2 separate regions of the Homo sapiens genome follow, and region 2 is linked to region 1. The links are contacts of gene promoters, found by promoter capture Hi-C in human tissues and cell types (Jung and others, 2019). All regions are on one chromosome and are shown on one strand. Each heading gives the region's core, a stretch centred on a gene start or on the middle of the fragment in contact. The rest is flanking DNA. Distances are from core to core; before and after follow the strand shown. Region 1 holds the start of OR4B1 (olfactory receptor family 4 subfamily B member 1). Region 2 has its middle 35 kb from the start of OR4B1.

The links. Contacts are between HindIII fragments. The study calls those that stand out against the background at their distance.
Region 2: a contact is called between a fragment that was not itself captured here and the fragment with the promoter of OR4B1 in region 1, in 1 of the 25 tissues and cell types used here (spleen).

Annotation. Positions count from the first base shown.
Region 1 is chr11:48,215,470-48,218,122 of GRCh38, reverse strand. OR4B1 (olfactory receptor family 4 subfamily B member 1) reads right to left here and starts at 1,313. Exons shown (of 1, transcript NM_001005470.1): 1 at 384-1,313. The coding sequence starts at 1,313. The coding sequence ends at 384. The HindIII fragment of the contact is 4,187 bases long and covers 1-2,653 here.
Region 2 is chr11:48,180,173-48,182,825 of GRCh38, reverse strand. No RefSeq gene overlaps it. Among named protein-coding and RNA genes, the nearest start is that of OR4B1, 35 kb to the left of the region's middle. The HindIII fragment of the contact is 3,592 bases long and covers 1-2,653 here.

The sequences.
Region 1 (2,653 bases), core at 64-2,563:
AGGGAGAAAGAAAAGAAGTGAGGAAGGGAGGAGGTAACAGGAAGAAGTGACTTAATCTAAAAAACATTTATCAACATGTTCTCCTTTGCATTTGCACTTGGTTTGAGGCTTCATATTACCCAAGCCCATGATATTGTTGGATATCATGAAGCCAATCAAGTTCTCTAAGACTCTGCGAGACTATCTGACCTCTGTCCTTCAAACATTACACCAGCATACCAAGTGTCTTTGGCTACTAAGCAGAATCACAGCAGCAGTATCATTAAGCCTTTATATTTGTTTCTGTCATTCTTGAATATCCCACTAAAATCAAAATCCATTTCAAGAACAGAGAGTAATCAGACATACATTTTGTATCACTTTTTCATCCCTAAGCTCTTTTTTCACTCCCTCCCTGGATTCTCCTTTTTGCTCCACAATCTTCTTATGGCGATTTTCACCTCTGCATTCCTGAGTGTGTAAATGATGGGGTTCAGCATGGGGGTGATGACCGTGTAGAATACAGCCACAAGTTTATCTTCAGTGAAAGTGGAAGAAGGTCGCATGTAGAGGAAGATAGCAGGTCCAAAAAACAAGATGACCACTGTGATGTGAGAAGCACAGGTGGAGAGGGCTTTGTGCCTCCCCTCTGCAGAATGGTTCCTCAAGTTGACCAGAATGACAATATAAGAGGACACCAAGATGAGGAAGGAGAAGACAGAGAATAATCCACTGTTGGCCAACACAATAACCCCCTCCATGAAGGTGTCAGTGCAGGCAAGCTTGAATAAAGGCTGGAGGTCACAGAAATAGTGGTCAATCACATTGGGACCACAGAAGGGCAATTGGATGATAACGAGAATCTGAATTATGGAGTGACAAAAGCCCCCCAGCCAGGAACCAGCCACCAGAAGGTGACACAGTTGACGACTGATAATGTTCATATAATGAAGAGGCTTGCAAATGGCCACGTAGCAATCATAGGCCATCACCACAATCAAAAGGATCTCAGCAACCCCAAAGAAGTGGAAGAAGAATATCTGAGTCAGACAGCCTTCCAGAGAGATGGTTTTAATCTTGGCAAGTAAGTCTATGATGAATTTAGGGGCGATAGTGGAGGAATAACTGATCTCCACCAAGGACAGGCAGCTAAGGAAGAAGTACATGGGAGAATCCAGACTCTTGCTGATACTGACCGTCAGAACGATGAGGCCATTGCCCACCACCGTGGCAAGGTACACGGGGAGAAACACCACAAAGCATACACTCTGCACAGCTGGATCCTGGAAAAGGCCAGTGAAAATCAACTCAGTCACATTACTTGTACTGGCCATGGATTCCACTCAGAGAAGACAGATCTCAGAGAAGAGCCCTGTGACAAAGCACATGCAATCATAACGCTAATCCTTCATGTTTATTTAGCACTTGCTTGTTAATAAAACCCTTTTATGCATATTTTCTGACTCATTTGTTTATTTATTTATATAGTCAATGTTTATTCATTTGGTGCTCAATAGCCTACCCTATGCAAGACACTGGTCAAGCAGCCCCACAAAAACTCTATGATCCCCATATAACAAGTAAGAAAACTGAGGCTCAGAGAATTTGTGAATTAGCCAAGCCTCCCAGGTCATATTATTCCAACTCATACATTACTTTAAGTAAAAAAAATTACCGCTTTCAGCATGAAAACCATTTATATTAATTACTAACATTTCTCCTATTCTCCATTTTCTCTGGTCATGTCTTTGTGTTAGAGATTGTATAGTGACCTTCTGCTCCTGACTCTTTTGTTTCCTCCATTTATTTACTCCCCAGAAATGCCAATCTAAGTGAAACATCTCCATTTTAGGGAATATCTTTGATGTTTTCATTACATGAACTATGTAAGTTTCTGAATTCTTTCAGACCCTATGGTTTTTGCCCAGTCCTATAGCTTCATGAATTTTACAACCATTTTGAGAAAATGTTGGCAGCTGAGAGCTAAGTGAACATCCAGAAGTTGTTTGGAGAATAGCTCCCTATCAAACAATAGTTTGAATATAACATATGGACAACACCACTTTGCTTGTTTCTGTCTTCCAGTTTGCTTGCCATTAGCAAACATTTTTGTCAGCAGAAGGTGCAGGATTTCTTTTAAAATAACTCTTTAAACCAAAGATTTTATTAAGTACCTACCACAGGCCTAGGCAACTCAGGACATAGGAAAGGAGAATGGAACATGGTTCTAGCCTGAAGAGGCTTGTAACTTCAAATGATTAAACAACACATTTATGAAAAGAAGGAGAGAAAAACTTCAAGATTTTCTCTGCTTTCAAAACTATGTTGAAGTATCTCGGGCCGGGAGCAGTGGCTCAGGCCTGTAATCCCAGCACTTTAGGAGGCCGAGGTGGGTGGATCAACTGAGGTCAGGAGTTCAAGATCGGCCTGGCCAACATGGTGAAACCCCATCTCTACTAAAAATACAAAAATTAACCGGGCATGCTGGTGGGCACCTGTAATCCCACCTACTCAGGAGGCTGAGACAGGATAATCACTTGAACCCGGGAGGTGGAGGTTGCAGTGAGCCAAGATCTCACCATTGCACTCCAGCCTGGGTGACAAGAGCAAAACTCCGTCTCAAAAAATATTAAATAAAATAAAATTATTTTGAAGTATCTCTTATTCACCTTAC
Region 2 (2,653 bases), core at 48-2,547, 35 kb after region 1:
TCCTCTGCACTTTAAATCATCTAGATTACTTATAATACCTAATACAGTGCAAATGCTATCTAAATGGCTGTTATATTGTATCTTTTATTTTATGTTTTATTATTATATTGCTATACTTTTATTTTTATTTTAAATGTTTGTGGGTTTTATTGATGGGTTTTTTCTCCAAATATTTTCAATCTGCAACTGGTTGAATCTGTGAATGCAGAACCCATGAATACAGAGAATCGACTGTATGTCACTTCCCAACTTGGCCATAAAAACCTCCCACACATTGTCTTTGGCCTTCTCTTCTTTGTCTACCAGCTGAATGACACTTTGGGTGACCTTGAGAGGTTTGGGTTAAAGGTCGTACAACCCCTACCAGCCTAGGTTCTTGAGTGGCTGCCAACCACATGAAACTGGGGTATGAGAATAGGCCATTGAGATCAAGGGGTTGTTTGTTATGGCAGCCATTAATTTACTCCATTTCCTACAATCTGTCTCACCTCCTGGAAAATAAAAATTAAATCACATCTTTTTTTTAATCCAACTAATGGCTCAAGGCCTCACCTGTCTTATTAGTAGGAAGTTCATTCTCTCTCACACAATGCCAGACCCCATCTCCATCCCAAATTTTCCAAGAACTTCCCAGGAAAACTCAGTCAAAAGGACTCCTGCTTCCAAAAAGCCATGTGTGAAGAGAGAAAATTAAAAATCTGACTAATCCTTGTTTTCGGTCATTACCATGCAGTTGGTCCCATATAATCTGGTGGGCCTGTGTCTTCCGCCCACTGCTGCAGTGATGCTGCTGCAGGTCTGACTTCTGCCATGCCAAGGTTAGCTTCCCTACTTGTGCTCCAAGGTCATTGTTCTCTTTGTTCATTCTCACATGCTCAGCTCTTGATCCCCAAAACACAGTGGTCTAGGATGGTTGGATCCAGAGAAGCTTCCAGCCCCAGCATGTTGCATCAAATCAAAACTCCCACGCAAACCCCAGTGCTGAGCCTACAGCATCAACACAGGTACCCCTTTCCCTCATGGTAGGATTCCTTAGGGGCTTCTAATATTCTTCTATGCAGATGAATCATGGTCAATATGATCATCCTGAACCACAAAAATAGGTTTCTTTAATTGCAAATCTCAGAGAGCAAAAGACAGGATCTCATTGGGCATGGTGGCTAACACCTGTAATCCCAGCACTTTAGGAGGCCAAGGTGGGCAGATCACCCAAGGTCAGGAGTCCGAGACCAGCCTGGCCAACATGGTGAAACCCTATCTCACTAAAACTACAAAAATTAGCCAGGCATGGTGGTGGGCACCTGTAATCCCAGCTACTCAGAAGGCTGAGGCAGGAGAATTGCTTGAACCTGGGAGGCAGAGGTTGCAGTGAGCCAAGATCACACCACTGCACTCCAGCCTGGGTGACAGAATGAGACTCCGTCTCAAAAACAAAACAAAAGACAGGGTCTCATTCCTTCCTTTCCTGAAAGCCCCTTGCTCTGGATGAAAATCTGTCTCTACCCAGGGGAGAGTAGTCTGCCTCAGGAAACACGTAATAGGTTCCTACACTCACGATCTCTGCATTGTTAAGCAGAGCATTCAGTTAACTTCTTAGAACAGAGACTCTACTCCAAGGAAACCTTCTGCCTCTGTCTATATAAAGGCTAGCAGTTCATCTTGAAAATGCACACACTATCTCATTTAAAACTGTAAGTAAATGCTACCATCGTTCTCAGTTTGCAGATGAAGAACCAGAGATTCAAAGAGACGGGGTGGCTTGCCTGCAGCATCACACCTAGCAGATGGTCAGCCAGGACCATCTAATGCCAAAGCCTAAAGCTTGTACCTAAACCCACCTCCCCGTCAGCCCCGTGAATCCACCAGGTACGTTTCACATTTCTCTTCCCCACCCTACCCCTTTCCTAGGGTTTTCCTTTTCCCCTTCCCAGCTTCTCTGCTCCCAAGTGATCTTATGTCTCCTGACCGTGCTACTTACGCTAAGTCAGCAGGAATGTCAGCATCTGAAAGCTGCATCTTAGGAGTAACTCCCTCTTGCAAAGCTGGGGTAGAGTCATGGACAGAGCCCAGATTTTTAAGCCCAATAGATGGGAGCTCAATTCCCAGGCTTGCCATTTACTAGCTGTGTGGCTTTGGCAAGACACTAATTGTTTCCACTTTTTAAATAAGGACTTCACAGGCGCTGACAGAAATTGATGATTGTTGCATTTTCCTGCTAAATCAATCTATGCTTTGTTCCTTCTGCTTCCCTCACATCAAACCAACAGATATGGCCGGGCGCAGTGGCTCACACTCTAATCCCAGCACTTTGGGAGGCCAAGGTGGGAGGATCACTTGAGGTCAGGAGTTCAAGACCAGCCTGGCCAACATGGTGAAACCCCATCTCTACTGAAAATACAAAAAATTAGCCAGGCATGGTGGCGTGCACCTGTAATCCCAGCTACTTGGGAGGCTGAGACATGAGAATCACTTGAACTTGAGAGGCGAAGGCTGCAGTAAGCCGAGATTGTGCCATTGCACTCCAGCCTGGGTGACAGAGTGAGACCATGTCTCAAAATGTGTTTATGTATCTATGTATATCTGTGTGTGTGTGTAAAACTCAGAGGTCTATAAGAATTTTAATATTTTATGTGGAGGGTAGGCCCTGGCTATA